Linked DNA regions of Homo sapiens: regions 2, 3 and 4 are each linked to region 1. Evidence: promoter capture Hi-C in human tissues and cell types (Jung and others, 2019). All regions are on one chromosome and are shown on one strand. The core of a region is centred on a gene start or on the middle of the fragment in contact, and the rest is flanking DNA. Distances in the headings are between cores, read along the strand shown. Region 1 holds the start of BSN (bassoon presynaptic cytomatrix protein). Region 2 holds the start of GPX1 (glutathione peroxidase 1). Region 3 overlaps RNF123 (ring finger protein 123). Region 4 overlaps TCTA (T cell leukemia translocation altered).

Region 1 (6,082 bases), core at 2,583-5,082:
CTTCACCCCCATAGACATCTTCATCTTTGGATCTCGTGCCTCCCCACGGAGGCTGCCATGCTGAAAGGATCAGCCCAGGGTAAACTGGACTTATGGGGAAGCAGGGAAGAGTCTGAGCTCTACCCCTTCTCCCTTTCTTGGGGATGACCGGCATGATGCTTTGCCTACGGCACAACTACACCTCTGGGTGTAGTTCCTGAGGTCCTGTCATCTCTTCATTCTTCCACGATTTGCCTTCTGGTGACTAATCATTTCTACTAATCCCAGCAGTGAGTTGGCTCTGATTGGGCCTTTTCCCACATGGATTTTTTTGTTTAGTTTTGTTTTTTTGAGACAGGGTCTTGCTCTGTCACCCAGGTGGGAGTGCAGTGGCACCATCACAGCTCACTGCAGCTTCAACCTCCCAGGCTCAGGTGATCCTCCCACCTCAGCCTCCCGAGTAGCTGGGACTACAGGTGCATGCCACCACACCCAGCTAGTTTTTGTATTTAGTAGAGAAAGGGTTTCGCCATGTTGCCCAGGCTGGTCTTAAACTGCTGAGCTCAAGCAATCCACCTGCCTTGGCCTCCCAAACTGTTGGGATTACAGGAGTGAGCCACTGTGCATGGCCCTGGATGGCTTTTTGTTGTTGTTGCTGTTTTTTCTGATTCCATTTTCCCTCTGGTCTTCTACAAGTGTCTGAGAACATAGGCTGGAGAAGCAAGCTGGCACATGTCTGTTGGTTCCATTTAGGCATGTGGATTGATTGTCCTCTCATCTGGCCATCTCCAAAATGGCTGCCATGTGTCACATGTTATGCTGAAGTGGGAAGAAGATATTTCAGCAAGTGAAGCTTAGGGGACTGGGAAACTCCTGCAGGGTCTCTAGGTCTATCCTGTCCCTGGTGGGGCAGCAGTTGGACCCAGGAGGACATGATACTTGACACACCACACAGCTGGCTTGCATAAACTGAAAGATTTGTTTATTCATTTGTCATAAAGCATAGTCAAGCCTAGTGAATTTTCCTGGATGAGTGAAGAGAGCTCATCAACAACCCCTCCATGAGGAGAAACCAGATGCAATCCCAGCACTCTCCCTGTTACTTATTAGCTCAGCAGCTAAAGCCAAAGATCTCTCTGAGTGCTTTTAAGCCTGGTGATTGGTGGGCCCTTTAGAAGCGCAGGTGAGGGAAATGCTCAGAGCGTCATGGAGAAGCCAGCACAACCATGAGCCCCAGAGGGCCTGCTGAAGGCCAGCCCAGGGGATAGGACCAGTCAGACAAGGTCCTGCTGTTGAGGAGCCCCAGTCTAGATCAAAAGGAGGTAAACAGCCTCTGGGACAGTGAATGGAAATGGGAGATTGAATCAGAGCCCCAGATAACCAGAGGCCAATACCATCCCATGGTCCACAAGAGTCCCTGGGCTGAATGTCAAGGGTGAATGAACACAGGGCAGGCATGTTCCTGGGGATGCTCCTCAAAGGAAACAGAACTGGGAGAGTTTGAGAGGAGAGGAGGGGCACCTCTAACCCACATTTTCAGGTCTCCTGGGTCCACTGTGCTGTGCCCTTTGTCACCAGGGCAGCAAAGACCCTGGAGGTCTGCTAACAGCCAGGAATCCACTCTGAGGAGGGCAACTCCCCAAGCCTGCAGGCTGGGTAGAGCTAATTAACCACACAGGAACCAGAGGCATGTTGATTTAAATCTGTGGAAAGCCATAGCTCCTGTGGTTTCTACAAAAACAAAAAAATAAACATCCTTTCCCCTGTTTCAAGTAGCCCAACCCACACTGACTGGGGTCTGTGAAGCTATAACAGCCTGGGTTGGGACAAGGTCAGGCCACTGGCCTGCCCATAGTGTTTGTGAGCATATTCTTCCCCAGGAGGAAATATATGGCACAAGACCGCCACATCCCAGACCATCACCAGGGAGACAACTAATAACAGAGTTGTCATAAGTATACCAGGCACTTGTCCTGGTGTTTTACCTACATCAGGCTGGGTGCATTGACTCATGCCTGTAATCCCAGCACTTTGGGAGGCCGAGGTGGGAGGATCACCAGAGGTCAGGAGTTCAAGACCAACCTGGCCAACATGGTGAAATCCCATCTCTACTAAAAATACAAAAACTAGCCAGGTGTGGTGGTGGGCACCTGTAATCCCAGCTACTAGGGAGGCTGAGGCAGGAGAATCATTTGAATCCGGGAGGTGGAGGTTGCAGTGAGCCGAGATCACACCACTGTACTCCAGCCTGGGTGACAGAGCGAGAGTCTGTCTCCAAAAAATAAAAATAAAAAAAATAAAATGAATAAAAAATAAAATATCTACATCAGCCACTCTACCCTTACAATCCCCCATATTCGAGGAGCTACTAAGATTCTAACTTTGCAGAATAGGAAATGGAGGCTCAGTGAGCCTAAGTCAGTTGCCAAGGGTCCTATCGGGGCTGAGGTGCAGACTCTTTTGGAGCCTAAATGTGCACATGTAGTCACCACTCACGAAGCTGTATCAAACATCCTGCAGCACAGGAGGAAACACAGCAAGGACCATCATCTGCAGGAAGAGAGGCTCTCTTCATCCTAGGTCATCCCAGAGGGGCCAGGCAGTTTAGCGTGAAAACGGGAGGTATGAAGTCAGGAGAAAATATCAGGAAGTGGGGGCTCTGCATTTCCTCTTTCTCTTACTTGCTCCATCCCAGAGGTCGGGAGGAGCAGCTCGGAGTGCACAGGGGAAGGCCCAGGGAGGGTCCTGGCCCCTCCTCACAAGAACTGACACAGCCACCGGTCTGTCCAGCAGGCTGGCTATCAGCATTCACTGGGATCCCTGGATTATTCTAGGTTCAGTTAGAACTGCTAACACCCTATGTGATATATTTCGCAACATTAGGAGAATTGAATGGGTTTGTAAAATGGGTTCAAGTTACTCACGCCTTTCTACACAGTCATGATTTATGACGTCAGAGATGAACTGGAATATAGGCTCCTAGGAAATATTCTCCCACAGGAAAGTACAGGCTTGTGTGAGAAGCCACCACGGCAGACAATCCTGAGTAGCGGGCAGAAACCGGCTGTAAATGTGAGGGAGCGGGGAAGTAATTTGGAAAGCTCTCAGGGTAATGCAGAGGCAACCTGCGGCCCCGCATCGAGACAGCTCCAGGCCTGAGAACCATCAAGTCCTCTTTTCCATCCCCAAGGTCACTCTCCCAGGGCTGACTGAGGTGGCCTCCCAGCTGGCTTCACACAGCCCTGTCACACCTTCCATCTGTGCCCGGGGCGCTTCCTGAGACTCCCAGTTCCTCAGTGTGAATCCCAGATGGTTCCCATCGCCATCTGGATAAAGGCTCCACTCCCCAGCTGGCCTTAAAGACCCTCACAATCCGGCCCGACCACCCAGCACCCTCCCTCTCCTTCCCTCTACGACCTTGCGTCTCTGAATACACTTGTTCCTCTGCCTTCCCAACTCCTATGCATACTTTTGAGGCCATTCTCGGGTAGCCCCTCTCCTCTCCGAGGCCTGTCCTTATGACGCCTGCCCGCTGTGGCACTCCGGTTACCCGGAGGAGAGTTGCTACTCTCGAGTTCACCGAGGCGGAAAGCCCCTCTGACTCCAAAGCAGGGCTCAGCGCGACGTCCCAGAGGCCGCTTCTAGTGGCAGGTGCCCCTCCTCACAGGGCCCTCGCAGCCCCGCCGGCCCCCGCCCGGCTCCTTCTCAGCATGATACAACCGCGTCGGCCCTGGACAGCGCATGCGCGGGCGCCGGCGGCTGTTTCCCAGCGACCCCGAGGCTGGCGGGAGCGCGCACAGGGGAAGGGGGGCGTGTGCAGGGAAGGGGGCGCGAGACGCGCATGCGCAGCGGCAGGCGGCGGCGCGAGCCGAGCTGGGAGATGGCGGCGGCAGCGGCGGCGCCGAGAGTGTGAGCACCGCCCGGGAGCCGCCGGCCCGGGCGCAGCGCGACCCCGACCCCGCCCGCCCGCCTGCCCGCCATGGGCAACGAGGTCAGCCTGGAGGGCGGCGCTGGCGACGGGCCGCTGCCGCCCGGCGGCGCCGGCCCCGGCCCGGGCCCCGGCCCCGGCCCCGGCGCAGGAAAGCCGCCTTCAGCACCGGCCGGTGGCGGACAGCTCCCCGCGGCGGGAGCAGCGCGGTCGACCGCGGTACCACCGGTCCCTGGCCCCGGCCCCGGCCCCGGTCCCGGCCCTGGCCCGGGCAGGTAAGCGCGTGTCTCGGCGCCCGGGGGGCGGTGAGCTGCAGCCTGAGGCCGGGACCCGGGCCCAGGATCCCGCGATCTAGTGTGGACAGCGAGGTTCGACGTCCGGCCGCACTCTGAACCCTGCCGGATTGGCGTGAACTGGGTGGTCGCGGGAAGCGGCCCTTCCTTTCCAGCTGCCCCGCCTTGGCGTGGCAGGATGACGAGCGCAGGGTCAGTCGGGGCCTGCAGACCGTGACTCCGTCACGAACCCCAAATTCGCTTCTCCCCAACGCTCGGGCCTGACTGCTCAGGAGGGGCTTATGTAACCTTAACCTGGTCCCTCCGCACAGGAGAGCAATGGGATGGAAAACGTCCTCCCTGTCTGCTGGTGTCTGCATGTGTCCATTGTGCTGGGCCGAGAAAACAGCACAATGGGAGTGGCTGTCAGGGAAGATAAGTGTCACTGCGAGGAACAGAGAGATGAAAATAGTTGAACCATGAACTTGGTCTTGGGCTTTCCTTGGGCATTTAGTGGCTGTAATCACCTTTGGGGGAAAGGAAAATTGCCCACTGGACACCAAGAGGTGCTTATTTAGGCCCAACAATACTAATAGGATCATGTGCTTTCACCAAGGTTTAGGGAAACATTTTGGGGTGAAGCAAAAATGCTATTGAGTCATCCAGCACCAGATATGTTCTCGTTACCTTATGATTTAGATCAAACCAGTGGAAAAGCTGAAACCCACACAGAATGCTTTAAACAGAACATATCTGATTAAATACTGTGAAACCAGTTTGTTTTAAATGTATGCCAACCCAGGTCCTGCAAAAACAGTCAAGTGGCAATGAAGGCTGTAAGGGAATGCCAATATATAATAAGTCAGTAGACTGAAAACTCAGGAAAACTACTAAGAGATGACACGATAAAATGGAAGGCATTATCTTTGCACCAAATAGGCTTGGGGAGTAGCAAAACCCCCAGGGGGTGGGAGGGAGGTGCTTCCAGCTCCATGTGGGTCTGCTGATATATGTTGCCCTGGCTTTTCTGTGTGGAAGCACATAAACTGAGGACGCATAATTTTTTATTCTTTGGCTGCCCGACTGTGCCTCTTGTGTGTTTATTTCCTCAGAAGTCATTTCTTAGACAACTAACAGTAATGAAAGGCTGTTAGTAGCTTGAAACCTGCGGCAGACAGGTCAGCCTGTGAGCATCCTTTTTAGAGGTGGGATTTGTCCATTTTATACTAGCTATAATAGTAATGCAGTTGGATAGCACACAGCTCTTAGCACTGCAAACACTGTCCATTTTGCTGCATGTTGAGTTGCTGTTTGGGTTTTAGCTTGAGGGAGGCTCACCCAGGCTTTAGTGTTCTCCTTCCAAGGGAAAGCTTCTGTAGCTGAATGGAAAAACACCTTGTTATTGAGAGTTCCCTGTATGGGGAATTTGTCATTTCTCTTCTGATAACCAAACAGGCTGCTCTGCTTGTAGTTTATCAGATGTTGCAGAGCCAATCATATGAAATTCTGGAAAGACCTGGGCAGCTCAGAGGGACCGGAAGGAGGCTGATGTCTATTGCTCATATGCCTTTTTAGTGTTTCATTTGTACTTCATCTGTACATTCTGCTGCAGGCAGACCCATGAACTGCTGTGGGTGAGGCGAACCACGGACTCCTGATGGATTTAGTAGTCACACAATCTCTTACCTGGCTGTGGGCAAGGCTCATACCTGAGCCTGTGGTGCTGAGGTCCTGTGACTATCAGACTCAGGAGGTGAGCTGGCTATTTGTCCCCAAAGCTCAGAACCAGAGACCATTAGGAGGTGGGATTTACTCCTCCAGCTGATATTCATTTTATCATAGCACCTCAGCTGAGCAGCAGCTCCATGGCTTATCTCTCCTTTAGTATTGCAATGGCTTCTAC
Region 2 (6,082 bases), core at 1,102-3,601, 200 kb before region 1:
GCGGGCGCCTGTAGTCCCAGCTACTCGGGAGGCTGAGGCAGAATGGCGTGAACCCGGGAGGCGGAGCTTGCAGTGAGCCGAGATTACACCACTGCACTCCAGCCTGCGCAACAGAGCAAGACTGTCTCAAAAAAAAAAAAAAAAAAAAAAAAATTAAAGATTATTGGCAGCAGGGTCAACAGATGGAGAGGCTGGACCTGAGTGGTGCCCGAGAAGCAGCAGCTGGCTTCAAAGACAAGCCCTTATCCTGGGCCTGAATGTGCAATTAATTGCACGTTAAGTGTTGGGCAGGGCATAGTCAGAAGGGCCAGTTAAATTATAGTTTTCTCACTCTTGAATATATGAGGCAGAAACTTGTAAGATCATCGTCACAGCAGATACAGGCACTTGGTAGCAACATGGAAAGATCTAGCCAGATAACAGAATTTATAACATTGCATGAGCTTCCGTGTAAAATGGGATTGTGTGGACCTAACAATTGGAGAGGCCATGACTCCAAATGTGAGTGGGGGCTCATGTTATTTTGTGACAGTCATTTCAGCGTGCAGCAAGTAGTCAGAAGTCTATCATTTGAGTTAGGCAGTCAACCATTGCCTTGTGTCTTTTTTGAAGTAAGGACTTTGTTGTAACTGGGTCTTGAGATGGCCCTTTGCATGTTCTGGTGAAGGCAGAAATGCAGGCCAGGAGCCAGACTTCCCACAAAGGAAAGAGTGGATCCTACACGCTGCAGACAAAAGGACAGAAAGTTCAGACTTGGCTAGGATAAGGGAAGGAGGATTAAGTTCCCACCACTATGACAATGAGGTTAGAAAAAGTATCGCCAGGCCGGGTGCGGTGGCTCATACCTGTAATCCCAGCACTTTGGGAGGCCGAGGCGGGTGGATCACGAGGTCAGGAGATCGATACCATCCTGGCTAACACGGTGAAACCCTGTCTCTACTAAAAATACAAAAAATTAGCCGGGCGTGGTGGCAGGCACCTGTAGTCCCAGCTACTCAGGAGGTTGAGGCAGGAGAATGGCGTGAACCCGGGAGGCGGAGCTTGCAGTGAGCCTAGATTGCGCCACTGCACTCCAGCCTGGGCAATAGAGCAAAAAACTCCGTCTCAAAAAAAAAAAAAAAAAAAGAAAAGAAAAAGAATTCCCAAATGACAATGACACAGGACATACACACAGTTCTGCTGACACCCGGCACTTTATTAGTGGGGAAACTCGCCTTGGTCTGGCAGAGACTGGGATCAACAGGACCAGCACCCATCTCGAGGTGGTATTTTCTGTAAGATCAGGTGTTCCTCCCTCGTAGGTTTAGAGGAAACACCCTCATAGATGAAAACCCCCCCGAGACAGCAGCACTGCAACTGCCAAGCAGCCGGGGTAGGAGGGGCGCCCTAGGCACAGCTGGGCCCTTGAGACAGCAGGGCTTCGATGTCAGGCTCGATGTCAATGGTCTGGAAGCGGCGGCTGTACCTGCGTAGGGGCACACCGTCAGGGCCCACCAGGAACTTCTCAAAGTTCCAGGCAACATCGTTGCGACACACCGGAGACCAGGTGATGAGCTTGGGGTCGGTCATAAGCGCGGTGGCGTCGTCGCTGGGAGCTGGCAGGGCCTCCCGCAGGAAGGCGAAGAGAGGGTGCGCCCCCGCACCGTTCACCTCGCACTTCTCGAAGAGCATGAAGTTGGGCTCGAACCCACCACCAGGCCGGACGTACTTGAGGGAATTCAGAATCTCTTCGTTCTTGGCGTTCTCCTACAGGAGAGAAGGGCAGCTAGAACCCGGGGTCAAGAGGAGGAGAGAAACGTTCTAACCACAAACAAGGGAGATTTTCTATGAGTCACCGGGATTTTGCCCTCCATGCGCAATCCCAAGGGCGGAGAGGAATTTCAGCAGCTACGAGCAACAGAAAGGAAACGAGAGAGTAGCCAGACTCTCCGCGCATGGAGCCGACGGCACCCACCAGCACACCGCCGGCGCCCCCAGCCACTACTGCACGTCCGCCCCCGCCCCGCCCCGCTCCGCCCGGCGCACCTGATGCCCAAACTGGTTGCACGGGAAGCCGAGCACCACCAGGCCCCGGGGTCCGAGGCGCCGCTGCAGCTCGTTCATCTGGGTGTAGTCCCGGACCGTGGTGCCTCAGAGGGACGCCACATTCTCGATAAGTAGTACCTTGCCCCGCAGGGAGCCCAGGCTCACAGGCTCCCCGCCGGCCAGCGGGCGCGCCGAGAAGGCATACACCGACTGGGCCGCCGCCGCCGCCGCCGCTAGCCGAGCAGCACACATGGCGCAATTGTCCAAGAAGCCAGCGGAGCGCCCCGAACAAGCACTGTAAGGGGAGGCCAGCAGGCGCCTCCTTTTAACTGGCCGGCGGCGGGTCACGTGGCACAGGCAGTTTTCCGGGCCTGAGGGTCCCGCCTCATCCGGCCCCCGCCCTACCCGGAGGGCTCGGCCCCTCCTCAGCCAGGAAAAGGCTGGAGAGTGCGCCCGAGCGGGACGCGTGCTCCTCCTAAGCCGGAAGGAGCAGCAGGCATGTCTGGTCTGGCCCAGGCAACCAGGCGGCAGCGGTCCAGGTTACCCTTCCAAGGGCTGGGGCCCTCGAGGGCTCCGTTTTTTCTCAGAGGTTCCTGAGTTAGGATGTGGGGTTTGGCATAGGAGGCTGGTGGGCGACGGCAGCAGCTGCAGGAGCTGCCCGTGCACAAACAGCCCTCCTCTCCTGTGCCATGTTACCGGCAGTGCAGGGGACAGCCAGAGGGATCTAGGCTTCCGGTCTCCCTCCTCCCTGTCTCCAAAGCGGCACCGCCCTCGTGCGGGTTTTCTAACCGGGCAGAGTCCTGGAAGCTCTGCCCCAGCCTCCTTAAGTGGAGCCCAGTAGCTCGCCGAGGCCAAGGAAACGCTGCCGGAGTCCTCCCTCCCTGGCCTCCTCAGGCTGCATTCACCCTACCCCCAAATCTGAACCAGAATGCGGTACAGGGTAATCATTTCCATGTTGTTGGGAGGGACCAGATTAGCTGCTGGGTGGGTGGGAGGTGGGGCACAAGCTAGTCCTTTGCACTCAACAAACCTCTCCAGGGTGAGCTAGGCCAGGAAGTCCTTGCATCCTCCTACCCCCAGCCCTGGAGAGAGCAACACAAACAACAGGATACAGGAAGTTTAGAAAACTGCCTTTATTCTATTAGTAGTTGGAAAAATTAACTGGTACAGAAAAAAAGTTTAGTCAGCTGGAGAGAAGAGAGACTGAGTGCCACCCATGAGAACTGGTGGCTCCTCTGGGAGGGAACCTGGATACAGTGAGGAGAAAAGAGCACTGTGAATTAGAGCCAGATGCTTAAGTCCAGGTGAGACAGGTTATGCCATCTTCCAAAGTGTCTAATTGCCTCAGGCGTGAAACCAATTCCTATTTACTTAGCCCAGCTCCATGGGGTACTGAGATACATGGGGCCGAAAAGGGGTAATATGGCCATCTTTTATCAGAAAAAGTGACAAAACGGGAATTTAAAAAATGAATTTTCCATCTGACTTTATTTCCAAATACACTTTCTTTTTTAAAAAACCAATACACTTTCTTTGAGGATGACAGTATTAGGAAATCCAATTATACAAAAAATACTACATCTAGTCTGGGGTAGATATATTTATTTTTGGTAACATACATTAAGTGGCACTAATTACACAGTAACTATAAGGTAACTAACATGAAACCACAGAACTGTAACTCTGCCACAGCTGCATGAACTTGGGCTTTTCTGGTTGAGCCCATTTTCAAAAAACTGCCCACCCCAGAGCTATGCCAACAAAATCTGTTACGGAGTAAAGCCCTGAAGTGGTGACTCACCAGAGTACCTTGCAGCTGACAGATAATAGGCAGGACATGTTAGTTATAAAGTAGTTACAGCCTAATTCACAAAAGTTACCAACTGTTTCTCTTTCTAGAAAGAAGCAAGAAGTTAAGAAATTCCTTGAATTAGCGCCTGGTGTGTCAGGTGGGAGTGCAGAGGAGGGCTGTTAGAGCAGTGTCAAAAGGACCCTGGTGGGCCAGACGGGTTGGACATCGTTAATAATCATAGTTGGCTTCTAAATACTGGTAGCAAGATGACTTCTGATTTGTAATCTTAGGTAAATTATAGATAAATGAAAAAGGCCAGTAATCATACACTAAGATTAATAAACAGCACTTCAAAATTAACCGCATAAGGGCTGTGCTTGCAGCAAGGTTTCACAAGACAAGGCACCCAGATTTTTTCTTCCCACGTCTAGCTTGCAGAGCAGCTCTCGTAGCCATTTCAAAAACCTCTCTCACTCCATCTTTGGTCTTTGCTGAACACTCCATGTACCCAAAAGCGCCAATCCTGTTTGCCATATCTCTGCCTTCTTCAGGTTTCACCGGCTCCTAGCAAAGAAAAAAAAATAGTCCTTTTAGCTAATAGTGTGGCATACATATAGTAAGTAAAAAGTATTCAAATTCATCTAAAAGATTTTTTTTTCTTTTTTTGAGACAGTTTTGCTCGTCGGTCGCCCAGGCTGGAGGGCAATGGCATGATCTCAGCTGACTGCAACCTCCACCTCCTGGGTTCAAGGGATTCTCCCGCCTCAGCCTCCCGAGTAGCTGGGACTACAGGTGCCCACCACCACGCCCAAGTAATTTTTTAGTAGAGATGGGGTTTCACCATTTTGGCCAGGCTGGTCTCGAACTCCTGACCAAGTGATCTGCCCACCTCGGCCTCCCAAAGTGCTGGGATACAGGCATGAGCCACTGTACCCAGCCTAAAAAAAAAAAAGACTTTCAAAAGCTGTTAAACTTGGCTGGGTGTGGTGGCTCACACCTGTAATCCCAGCACTTTGGGAGGCTGAGCTGGGCGGATCACGAGTTTAGGAGATCAAGACCATCCTGGCCAACATGGTGAAACCCCTCTTTACTAAAATACAAAAAATCACCTGGGTGTGGTAGTGGGCGCCTGTAACCCCAGCTACTCAGGAGGCTGAGGCAGGGGAATCGCTTAAATCTGGGAGGCGGAGGTTGCAGTTGAGCCAAGATCGTGCCACAGCACTCCAGCCTGGCGACACAGTGAGGCTCCTTCTCAAAAAAAACAAAACAAAAAAAAAAAACAACAAACTGCTAAACTTATGAAATTTTTAAACTGACATATGGTAACTACCCCCTACCAAACATAAAATCTCTAATAAACATGGTATTCACTGGGAAGTAGAGGGAAGAGGTCAGAGGAGCCCTGGAAGGTTAAGGAGTCAATCAAGAGCAAAATTACTCAAGCTACCAATCCAGGACTAAATGCCCTGAAGGAAATAAAGCCTACCCTTGACATTCAGACAGAGAAACCTGAGTAAGAGAACTTAGGTTGAAGATCTCAATGCTTCTCCTCCAGTGAGGAAGCCCTGCCATTAGGCCAGCTGGTTTCTGAGAGGCCAAGATGCCACATCCATCATCACTTTTAAAAAGGCATTGGGAGTGGAGGAGAGGGAAGGCATTAGGGCTTTCTATCTGGACTCCCAGCCTTCAAGATTTCCTTATCTTTCAGTTGCCACTAATTTATCTTTGGCCTCACATGTACCAAAGTAATAGCTGGGGAAGGCAATCAAGAGTCTAACAGGCCCGGGCGTGGTGGCTCACACCTGTAATCCCAGCACTTTGGGAGGCCAAGGCGGGCAGATCACCTAAGGTCAGGAGTTTGAGACCAGCCTGACCAACATGGAGAAAACCCGTCTCTACTAAAAATACAAAAATTAGCCAGGCGTGGTGGCACATGCCTGTAATCCCAGCAACTTGGGAGGCTGAGGCAGGAGAATCACTTAAACCTTGGAGGCTGAGGTTGCAGCCGAGATAGCATCACTGCATTCCAGCCTGGGTGACAAAAGCAAAACTGTGTCTCAAAAAATAAAAATAAAGAGTCTAACAGAGGCCAGGCACAGTGGCTCACACCTGTAATCCCTGCACTTTGGGAGGCAAAAGTGGGCAGATCACTTGAGGTAAGGAGTTCAAGACCAGCCTGGCCAACAGGGTGAAACCCCATCTATTAAAAAAAAAAAAAATTAGCCGGTCATGGTGGAGGGTGCCTGTAGTCCCAGCTACTCGGGA
Region 3 (6,082 bases), core at 1,410-3,909, 150 kb after region 1:
AGACCCTCAAAGGTGTGTACAGGCCTGTGGGCCGGGAGCAGTTCTGGGGCCAGGTGGGGGACTGTCCCTGAGCCTGCTCTGCTGTGGATGCTGAGCCATCCTATGGCCACCAGAGGGTGCCCAAGTCTTTCCACCCACTCAGGCAGGGAGACACTGATCTGCCTGCCCTACATCTGGGCAGCTTCTCTTTCCCGCCAGCACCCACGCCATAGGGGTCGGGCGTGCCTGGCAGGGGACCAGGGATCTTGGTGAGGTGTGGATGGGGCGTGCAGGTGCTGCCGGAGCTGCCTTCAGGGATGAGCACAAGCTGCCCCGGTGCAGGGCTGAGGGCACAGCGAGAGCAAGGCCCTGAGCCGGGCACAAGGGTGGGTCTGTGCTGTCAGAACCTCTCTCTGGCTGCCGCAGTGTATACGCCGGAGTGCAGGGGCTGAGAGACAGGGAGCCCAGGTGTCCCCACACAGGAGATAAGGGCCTGCCCAGGTAGGTAGGGGAGGGCACAGGTGGAGGAGAGGAGTCAGGATGACCCCAGGCTTCCTGCCAGAGGTTGTGTGGATGGGGTGCCATCAGGGAGAGGGGCTGCAGGAGGTGGTGGAGATGAGAAATTCTGTTTGGACACAGCGCGTTTAGCGGGGAGCAAGGCCTGGGCGGGGGGCAGCGAAGGCGGGGTCAGTTGTCAGCACGGTGGTGGGGATGAGCCTGGGATGAGGCTTGGCTCCCACTGGGAGTGCCCAGAATGAAGCAGCCCTGGCATCTCCTTTTGTTTATGGAGTAGTCAGAGAGTGGGGGAGGCCCTGGAGAGCAGGAAGTCCTGGGAAACAAAGCCAGGGACCAGCAGGAAGGGCATGATGGGCTTACATCTATGTAGAATAAAGAAAGTCAATTTGAAAATAAATGAAAAAGAAGGGTGTGATGGGGAAGGCCTCCTGTTACTGAGTGGCAGCTAGACGGGGCCCTTGAGATGCAGAGTGAAGGCTGGGTGGAGGAGGCGGAGGGGCGAGGGGCAGATACGGTGCTAAACCGGGCTCTGCAAGGCCTCCTGCCCAGTGTGCTGGGCTCTCTCACCGTCCTGGGCACTTCCACTGTGGCCCCTTGCGCCACCACTGGCCTGAGAACCCTCCTGCTCTTCCTCCCAGATGACCTTGCTTCCAAAGCCAACATTGTGATCGACCCACTGGAGCTCCAGTCAACCGCCATGGATGACCTAGATGAGGATGAGGAGCCAGCCCCAGCTATGGCCCAGGTGCCGCAGTGGGGGCAGGCGGTGGGATTTGTGTTGGGCTTATCCTGTATCTTATGGGCAGGGGTCTCATCCAGGGCCACTTCCCGCTCCATGCAGGCAAAGGGTTTCTCACTGGGCTGGTGCCTTGCTGTGGGTGGAGGCATGGACCCTCCCTCACAATTCTGCAGCCCCGTGGGCCAAGGGAACCCTGAGCCAGCCCTGGTCCTGGCCGCCTTTCTTCACTGCAGCGCCCCATGCAGGCCCTGGCTGTTGGGGGGCCACTGCCCCTGCCCCGGCCCGGCTGGCTCAGTTCTCCAACTTTGGGCCGAGCCAACCGCTTCCTCAGCACAGCGGCTGTGAGCCTCATGACCCCACGGCGGCCTCTGAGCACCTCGGAGAAAGTGAAGGTCCGCACGCTGAGCGTGGAGCAGAGGACCCGTGAGGACAGTAGGTGCTTGGTGGGGTCAGGCAGGTCCCCGAAGGACCCTTCCACAGTGTACAGTCCCCGATCCGGGCAAAGCCAAAATACACCCCATGCCCTCCCAGCCCTGTGGCCTGGCAGCATCCCAGGAGTGCAGGAAGCACACTCCGAGGGCAGGAGATCAATGCCGCAGAAATAGGTCCTGGCACCGCAGGCCTTGCCCTGCACTCCACCCCTACCCCCATGCCCCCATGGGCTCCCCGCGGGTCCCTCCTTGGGCACAGGAATGGGAGAGATGATTTCCTCTCCTGCTGTGAGGCAGGCTCAGGAGAGCCGGGATGGCCCTACCCTTGACCCTTCCCTCCCCAACTCCCCAGTTGAAGGCAGCCACTGGAATGAGGGCTTGCTGCTGGGGCGGCCCCCCGAGGAGCCTGAGCAGCCCCTCACCGAGAACTCGCTGCTGGAAGTCCTGGATGGGGCGGTCATGATGTACAACCTCAGCGTACACCAGCAGCTGGGCAAGGTCGTGCACTCTTGGACCCCGCATTGGGTGGCGGGTGTTGTGCGTGTTTGGTTGTGTGTGTATTCCTGTGTGCACATGGGCCCGCAGGGCTGCCTGTTCAAGACCGTGCATGGGAGCACATGCCTCAGCGAGGCTGGTTTCTGCTCCTGCTGCCTCAGTCTGACCTGCTGACTGTTGTGGGAATGGGACCGCCCTGGGCCTAAGGTTGGGACCTTGGCAGGGCTGGGGTCCAGACTGGGTCTGAAGAAGCCTGGATGAAGTGCCCAAGGGGCACTCTGGACATGTGGTCCCATGCTGTGTAGATGGTGGGTGTCTCCGATGATGTCAATGAATACGCTATGGCTCTGAGGGACACAGAGGACAAGCTCCGCCGGTGCCCCAAGAGGGTAAGGCCCACATAGTCTTGGTGAGGGGCAGCTTGCTTACTCGTACAGGTAACCACAGATGAAGTCTGGTTCTGGGGGCTGCCCTGGCAGTTCTCATCCCCACTCTAGCCCTGGCCATAGCACGCCAGTGAGAGTGGGGCTGGCAGCAAGGCCTGGCACCCATCACCAGTGTGGCCTGTGCCTAGGTGCCCCCCACCCCCTGGGCCCAATAAGTGCTGAAGCACACCCACTCTCCTCATCAATTATTCATTGACCCTGAGTGCTTCCTCGGCCACTTGCAGAGTCAGCAGGAAGCAGGGCCTGGCTCCACTGCACCCTCCGGAGCCCTCTGCTGTAGCTGCCCTAGCCCAGGAAGGTGGGGCCCAGTGTGTCCAGGCTGAGCTTCCCTGACAGCCCCCACCCACCCCGACCTGTCAGCAGATCCCTGGGTCTGGCAGCTGGGGGAGCAGCGGTTCTGGCATCAGGTCCCTGGGTGCTCTGGCCAGCGGCTCACAGACCCCCAGCTGGGCCTCACTTCCATGTCATGAGGGGACCACCATGGCCTTGTTCTGAGGCTGGCTCAGGGTCACCAGAGGGTCAGTGGCAGAAGAAGGTTTTGAAAAATGGAGCCCAATCCCTTGCCTGCTCCAGGCACTAGAGGGCCCTTCCTAGGCTGCCTGCAGGATCAGGGTGGACCTGGGTATGGGGCCATGTCTTGATTGTCCTCCTTTCCCCTTGGGTGGCAGAGGAAGGACATCCTTGCAGAGTTGACCAAGAGCCAGAAGGTTTTCTCAGAAAAGCTGGACCACCTGAGCCGCCGTCTTGCCTGGGTCCATGCCACTGTCTACTCCCAGGTGTGCTGGTATTGCAGCTGCCCCTTCCCGACCTCACTGTCTGGCCACGGGTCTAGCAAGATTGTGCCAGGGCCCTTGATGCCCCCACCCTCTCAGGCCTCTGGCACACACATGTCCCTTCCCACACTTCAGACTCCATCACCCCATGCCATGTCCCCTGTACCCCTCATGCTCTGTGGACTGAGGAAGCGCAGTTTCTGGACCTCCAGTTCGCCTCATAGACCTGTCCTTCGAGGAACAAACTCTGTCTGTCTGCCTCCCCTGCTCCCACCCCCTCCCAGTTTCTTGGCCCCCGTCCTTCTCTCCCAGTGCATCAGGGGCTCTGCAGTCTTTCCCGGAGGCACACTCCACCATCTGTGCCTGCCTCTGTCTGACTCATTACCACCCGAGGCCACTGGCTTGTTCCCCACTCACTCATTCACTTGCTCATTCATTCAATAACATGCACTCAAAACCTGGTGTGTGCCAGGTGCTGTCCTGGAACTAGGGACACACACACATTAATAAGTCAGAAAGATGAGCCTCTGCCTTCTGAAGGCACTCAGCCTGGTCAGATACATGGATGGACAGACAGATGGATGGGGCACTCCTGCTGTGACTGAAGTTTCACCCCCAGGCCTCAGACTCTCTGGACTTGTTTCCTCTCCCTGCCCCTCTTGGCATCTCTTCCCTAACCAGTGAGTGCCCTGAGGGTCTCTTCAGGTGCCCAGGTCAGGGTATCTGCTGTCTTCTTGGGCATACCCCTGCATGACTGGGTGATCGAGGCCTTTGGTATCCCCATTTCTATCATCTCTGCTTGCTGTTTCTTCTCATGGCTCTTTTGCAAAACCCAAACCACCTCCACCTTTTTCCCATTCGTGACTCTCCTGCTACCCTGGATGACCGTGCTTACTGCCCCATGACGGGAACTTCCTCTCCCTTCTGCCCTGAGATTTCCTGCCTGCCCACCTCCCTCAGAAGTTTGGCTGCCCTCTCCCACACTGTCTTCTCAAGACCCTTGCCCTCTCATCTCTCTGCCTTTTTTTAGTTATGCTAAAATATGTGTGACATAAAATGTACCATCCTAGCTGTGTTTTTTTTGTTTTGTTTTGTTTTGTGTTTTTTTTGAGACAGAGTCTCACTCTGTTGCCCAGGCTGGACTGCAATGGCATGATCTTGGCTCACTGCAACCTCTGTCTCCCGGGTTCAAGCAGTTCTCCTGGATTATAGATGTGCTACCGCGCCCAGCTACTTTTTGTATTTTTTGGTAGAGACAGGGTTTCACTTTGTTGGCGTGGCTGGTCTCAAACTCCTGGCCTCATGTGATCCTGCCACCTCGGCCTCCCAAAGTGCTGGGGTTACAGGCGTGCGCCACTGTGCCCGGTCACCCATCATAGCCATTTTTAAGTGTTAAGTCTATTCACATTGTCGTGCAGCCAATCTCCACACTCATTTCATCTTGCAAAACTGATACTCCGTGCCTGTTGAACAAAACCTCCTGTCCTCCCTTCCCCAGCTTCCCTGACAGCTCCCACCCATCCCCACCTGTCAGCAGATCCCTGGGTCTGGCAGCTGGGGGAGCAGTGGTTCTGGCATCAGGTCCCTGAGTGCTCTGGCCAGCGGCTCACAGACCCCCAGCTGGGCCTTACTTCCATGTCATGAGGGGACCACCATGGCCCTGTTCTGAGGCTAGCTCAGGTTGCCCCTGGCAACCACCATCCTACTTTCTGTCTCTGAATTTGACTATACTAAGCACCTCATCTAGGAAGAATCATACACTATTTGTTCTTTTGTGTATGGCTTTAGCATAATGTCCTCAAGGTTCATTCGTGTTATAGCATGTGTCAGAATTTCTTCATTTTCCAGGCTGAATAATATTCTGTTGTACGGACACCACATTTCATATATCCAGTCCTTTGCTGATGGACACTCGGGTTGCTTCTACTTTGGGCTACTGTGAATAATGCTGTAATGAACATGGGTTTGCAAAGATCTCTTTGAGACCCTAATTTCAATTCTTTTGGTTATATACCCAGAAGTGGAATTACTGTATCATATGGTAATTCTGTTTTTTATTTTATTTTTAATTTTAATTTTTTATTTTTTTTGAGATGGAGTCTCACTCTGTCACCCAGGCTGGAGTGCAATGGTGCGATCTCGGCTCACATCCTGGGTTCAAGTGTTCTCCTGCCTCAGCCTCCCGAGTAGCTGGGACTACAGGTGCGCACCACCATGCTCGGCTAATTTTTGTGATTTTTTTTTTCTTTTTTTGAGGTGGAGTTTTGCTCTTCTTGCCCAGGCTGGAGTGCAATGGCGCGATCTCGGCTCACGGCAGCCTCTGCCTCCCAGGTTCAAGCAATTCTCCTGCCTCAGCCTCCTGAGTAGCTGGGATTACAGGCATGTGCCACCACGCCCAGCTAATTTTGTATTTTTTTTTTTTTGAGACAGAGTCTCACTCTTTCACCCAGGCCGGAGTGCAATGGCGCTATCTCAGCTCACTGCAAGCTCCGCCTCCCGGGTTCACACCATTCTCCTGCCTCAGCCTCCCGAGTAGCTGGGACTACAGGCGCCTGCCACCACGCCCGGCTAATTTTTTGTATTTTTAGTAGAGACAGGGTTTCACCGTGTTAGCCAGGATGGTCTCGATCTCCTGACCTCGTGATCCACCCGCCTCGGCCTCCCAAAGTGCTGGGATTACAGGCGTGAGCCACCGCGCCTGGC
Region 4 (4,763 bases), core at 1,723-4,222, 140 kb before region 1:
AGGCTGAGATGGGCGGATCACTTGAGGTCAGGAGTTTGAGACTAGCCTGGCCAACATAGGGAAACCCCGTCTTTACTAAAAATAGAAAAAATTAGCTGGGCATGGTGGCATACGCCTGTAATCCCAGCTACTCGGGAGGCTGAGGCATGAGAATCACTTGAACCCAGGAGGCAGAGGTTGCAGTGAGCCCAGATCACGCCACTGCACTCCAGACTGGGCATCAGAGTGAGACTCTGTCTCAAAAAAAATAACAGGCCGGGCATGGTGGCTCACGCCTGTTCCTAGCACTTTGGGAGACTGAGGAGGGTAGATCACCTGAGGCCAGGAGTTTGAGACCAGCCTGGCCAACATGGCGAAACCCCGTCTTCACTAAAAATACAAAAACTAGCTGGGTGTGGTGGCGGGCGCCTGTAATCCCAGCTACTTGGGAGGCTGAGGCAGGAAAATTGCTTGAACCCGGGAGGTGGAGGCTGCAGTGAGCTGAGATCTTGCCATTGCACCCCAACCTGGGCAACAAGAGTGAAACTCCGTCTCAAAAAAAGAAAAGTAATAACAATAGTAATAAATAAAAAGAATAAAAAAACTAGAGAAGGATGGCAATGCCGTACTAACATGGAGAACCAGGAAGAAGAATGAGTCTGCAGGGAGAAGGTGCTGGGCCCAGGGTGGGCTGTGGGAGACCAGCAGAGAGGTCTAGATTGTTATGTGACCTTACTGAGCCTAGCTCAGCCCCCAAGAAGGAGCTTGGGAGAGCCAATTTCAGCAACTGTTCTGCCCATGGAATAACCACTCTCTCTTCTCTCTCTCCATCACTTTCAGGGAAATGGCAGCAAACGAACCTCTCAAAACCCACAGAGAATAAGGGAAGGCAGCAGAGGGTCTCCAAGGGCATCACTGGGTCTGCTGGCTTCTACACTGGGTTCTGCTACTCCCCAGACCTCAGGGACAACTGCCGGGGGTTCAGGGTTGGTAGCAGGGAGTACCCAGTGCCTACAGGGCTGGGCCTCTTCTGCCTCTTAAGCCTGCTCCCTCACCCAGGCACTGGGCAAGTGAAGAGTTTGCCTGTACTCTTATCTGGGTGCCTTAAGGAGAGAGATTGTGTTCTTCCTCTCTCAGGGGTGATAACTCAGGAAGCCTCTGGGTTGGGAAGACCATCAGTTCTTTTGTCTTAGGTTTCTTTTCCTGTCCCTCTTCCATCCCCAAGATGTGACCCCATAAAAATTTTTCCTGAGTTGGCCAGGCATGGTGGCTCACGCCTGTAATCCCAACACTTTGGGAGGCTGAGGCAGGCAGATCACGAGGTCAGGAGTTCGAGACCAGCCTGACCAACATGGTGAAAACCCCATCTCTACTAAAAATACAAAAATTAGCCGGGTGTGGTGGCACACACCAGTAATCCCAGCTACTCAGGAGGCTGAAGCAGGAGATTTGCTTGAACCTGGGAGGCAGAGGTTGCAGTGAGCCAAGATTGCGCCGTTGTACTCCAGCCTGGGCAACAGAGCAAGACCCATCTCAAAAAAAAAATTTTTTTCCTGAGAGGAAGCCTGAGGTTGACCAGCTCTGGGGTTTGTAAGGCAGGTCTGTTTTCTCCTAGGCCCTGAGTTTTCTGAATCTCTGGTTTTGCTTTGTTGGCAAGGAGCCAGGGAATCCTGACCTGAGCCAGACCTTAAGCTCTATGGTTATTTAGCTGGCCATTCAGGTATAAGGCAGGGTGGTGTACCTGCTGGCACTATCCAGATGGAGGCACCAAACACCCACATACCTGGCCCAACCAGACTTCTCCCGTGAGCCAGGCAAAGGAAATTGTCATCTGCCAACTGTCCTACTCATATTCCTCTCAGTCCTTCTTGGGGGTAAGCTGATTACCTGAAGGACAGCTGAACCCCTGGGGTAGCCTCCTATCCACCACTGCTTAAGTGCCTATGGGAATGTGGGTCTGCACCTTGTCCCCTCATAGGATGGTACCAAGCATTTAGTGCACAGTGGCCCCATCATAGCCTGCAGCCTCATCATTTCCCATCTGGACCTGGTACAAATGCACGTCACAGGCTCAGCTCCTCCCCACTAGCATTTTCTCTACCTTCAAGAACCAGGCAGCCCTGCCATGTCACAATAGGCCAGGGGAGTTTCCAAAGATGTGGGTGGCAAATGCCCCTATAGAAACACCAGTACCTGAAAGCACTGTAGCCCTGGACCTGCCTCCTTCCCTCGGGGCCATACTTCTGTTTCCATCTGCTGGGCCACCAGCCACTTTAGTGACCCCTGCCTACTTCCTTCCTGTTGGATATCATACTTCCATCTGGCTGCCTTTGCTTAAGCCATCTTTGTGGTAGAGGGGCCCTGGAATTGCAGCTGTACTGAGGATGATGTTATTCACAGCCCCTGGCCCACCCACTAATACTACTGCACAGAGTCAGGATCTCACATTTCACCCCAGGCTCAACTGAGGATGTGGCTTATTAAACACGGAAGTGCATCGGTTGTTGTGGTTATTCAGACAGAACAAGGGTGTGCATGCACAGGGGCAGTGAGAGAGGGAACATCCTGGAAGCTGTTGCCCCTTGGGACCCAGATGCAATAACTTGCAGGGAGGGGAGAGGTGATGCAGCTCCCTGGAGGAGCAGGGATGGGGTGCCCAACAGGGGCAATATCTCCATTTTTATAGACTGGCCCCTTTCAAGGAGAACCTATTCCAAGCTTGTCTTGGAGGCCAGGAAGGCAGGCATTGGGTTGGCATTTCAGGAACCCTGTGAACAGAGAACAATGAAGCTAGAGACTGGCAAGTAAGAAGGAAGTTTAATTTTTTTTTCAGGATTCAGTGGAGTCCATTAATGCATACCAGGGGCAAAGATCAGCCCAGGGTAAGGCAAGTCTGGGAGGAAGCCCACCCTGCCCTACAGCAGCCCTGGAACTCAGAATAGGTGGTGAGTCTGCCATGGTTTGCTACTGGGCAGCACACTAGACCAACTTGGGAATGTGGAAGAGTGAGTCTATGTTCCCTCAGCCATCCCCAAGTTTACACACAGGCATAGCAGCCCTACTGTGAGTCAGCAATCATTCCTGACTTGCAGTAAGGACAATTTGCATTTACGGAAAGCAAACTGGAGGGGGTAGCCTAAGTCCGCACTGCCCATGTTATTACCCTTTGCAATGTGAAAAACCATGGTGAGGTAGGTTGGGCAGGTTTTATCCTCTCCACAAAGGTGAGCCTTTGCTCCACAGCCAGCACCTGGCAGAGTGGGAGAGATGGCAGAACCAAAGCTTCTCATTACCCTCCAGCAGGCAAGAGTAGGTCAGTGGGATCATGGACTGAAACAAGACATTGTGTGAGCTGGTCCGTCACTCAGAAGCAGGGTCCTGAAGGAAGCTGGAATGGCATGAGTTAGGTGGGGGGAATAGGTGGTGTGGCCCCTCAACCAGACAATTAGAATCAGCCTCCACCTTAACTGCCCACCCCCAGTGAGTTCTGCCTCAGCTTCTTGACTAACCCCTTGTAGGGGCAAAACTCCTGGAAGGGACAGCCCCACCCTGAGCCAGCTTCACTTGAGGGTATAGTAGTTTGTGGGCACAAAGGGCATCTTGCTGACTACAGCCATCTGCTGCTTCCGCCGCACCTCTACCAGCAGCATTGTCCCTGGACGACTGTACTCGCAGGGCACATAACCCATCGCCACATTCTTCTTCAGAGAGGGGGAGGGGCAGCCACTAGTCACAGTACCTGTCAAGCAAGCATAAGCCACGCATCAGCACCACCCTGCCAGTGCCCCCACCCTCCTGGGAAGAGACAAGGGTTTCCCAGCTTCCCTGGTCCACCTACCAATCTTGGTACCCTCCATGTTCAGGATGGGACTGTGTGCCCGCATGGGGGCCCCCTCACACATCAACCCCACACGCCTCCGCTGCACCCTGCCCTTCAGCTGGGGAACAATGACCTTGGCTCCAGGGAAGTCCATAGCAGCTCGGCGGCGCTTCCCTGGAGAATGACACATGAGACATAAGCCACAGCCCATAGAAGCCCTGGCCACAGGAGGTCCTTATGAGGTCCTCAAGTAACACACTATCTAGCATCAAGGCCCCTTTGCTTGGGCTACTCCAGGCTCTATTCCTCCCTTCACTGCCGTCAGCCAACCAACCACCTCCTATCCCCTGGAGGCCATGCTGCCCACCTGCCGAGCGTCTTCAGTTTCTTTTTTTTTTTTTTGAGATGGAGTCACTCTGTCGCCCAGGCCTAGAATGCAGTGGCACGATCTCAGCTCACTGCAAACTCTGCCTCCCAGGTTCAAGCAATTTACCTGCCTCAGTCTCCCGAGTAGCTGGGATAACAGGCACCCGCCACCACGCCTGGCTAATTTTTATATTTTCAGTAGAGACGGGGTCTCACCATGTTGGCCAGGCTATTCTCGAATTCCTGACCTCATGATCCACCCACCTTGGCCTCCCAAAGTGCTGGGATTACAGGTGTGAGCCACCATGCCCGGCAGCATCTTCAGTTTCTTTTTTTTTTTTTTTTTTTTTTTTGAGACGGGGTCTCGCTCTATCGCCCTGGCTGGAGGTGCAGTGGCGCAATCTCGGCTCACTGCAAACTCCGCCGCCCAGGTTCATGCCATTCTCCTGCCTCAGCCTCCCGAGTAGCTGGGACTACAGGCGCCCGCCACAATGCCCAGCTAATTTTTTTTTTGTATTTTTAGTAGAGACGGGGTTTCACCATGTTAGCCAGGATGGTCTTGATCTCCTGACCTCGTGATCCACCCGCCTCGGCCTCC

The links. The method cuts DNA at HindIII sites, captures the fragments that hold promoters and counts their contacts. A contact is called where the count stands out against the background at its distance.
Region 2: a contact is called between the fragment with the promoter of GPX1 here and the fragment with the promoter of BSN in region 1, in 1 of the 25 tissues and cell types used here (liver).
Region 3: a fragment that was not itself captured here is called in contact with the fragment with the promoter of BSN in region 1 in 1 of the 25 tissues and cell types used here (IMR-90 fibroblasts).
Region 4: a contact is called between a fragment that was not itself captured here and the fragment with the promoter of BSN in region 1, in 1 of the 25 tissues and cell types used here (dorsolateral prefrontal cortex).

Annotation. Positions count from the first base shown.
Region 1 is chr3:49,550,645-49,556,726 of GRCh38, forward strand. It overlaps BSN (bassoon presynaptic cytomatrix protein), which reads left to right and starts at 3,833. Exons shown (of 12, transcript NM_003458.4): 1 at 3,833-4,182. The coding sequence starts at 3,959. BSN-DT (BSN divergent transcript) reads right to left here and starts at 3,722. Exons shown (of 3, transcript NR_038866.1): 1 at 3,397-3,722; 2 at 2,904-3,043; 3 at 1-798. RefSeq lists silencers at 3,641-3,940, 4,011-4,220. The HindIII fragment of the contact is 7,009 bases long and covers 1-6,082 here.
Region 2 is chr3:49,356,002-49,362,083 of GRCh38, forward strand. It overlaps GPX1 (glutathione peroxidase 1), which reads right to left and starts at 2,352. Exons shown (of 2, transcript NM_000581.4): 1 at 2,026-2,352; 2 at 1,175-1,746. The coding sequence starts at 2,277. The coding sequence ends at 1,387. It overlaps RHOA (ras homolog family member A), which reads right to left. Exons shown (of 5, transcript NM_001664.4): 5 at 3,144-4,381. The coding sequence ends at 4,208. RefSeq lists enhancers at 2,028-2,636, 2,545-2,874, 2,637-3,245 and a silencer at 2,325-2,384. The HindIII fragment of the contact is 32,276 bases long and covers 1-6,082 here.
Region 3 is chr3:49,703,517-49,709,598 of GRCh38, forward strand. RNF123 (ring finger protein 123) reads left to right here. Exons shown (of 39, transcript NM_022064.5): 21 at 1-12; 22 at 1,134-1,240; 23 at 1,468-1,666; 24 at 2,018-2,163; 25 at 2,466-2,549; 26 at 3,275-3,382. Among named protein-coding and RNA genes, the nearest start is that of AMIGO3, 13 kb to the right of the region's middle. RefSeq lists a silencer at 40-334. The HindIII fragment of the contact is 7,498 bases long and covers 1-6,082 here.
Region 4 is chr3:49,414,001-49,418,763 of GRCh38, forward strand. TCTA (T cell leukemia translocation altered) reads left to right here. Exons shown (of 3, transcript NM_022171.3): 3 at 820-2,476. The coding sequence ends at 862. It overlaps AMT (aminomethyltransferase), which reads right to left. Exons shown (of 9, transcript NM_000481.4): 8 at 3,818-3,973; 9 at 2,778-3,718. The coding sequence ends at 3,540. Among named protein-coding and RNA genes, the nearest start is that of TCTA, 4.0 kb to the left of the region's middle. RefSeq lists enhancers at 2,022-2,231, 3,658-4,376. The HindIII fragment of the contact is 4,017 bases long and covers 965-4,763 here.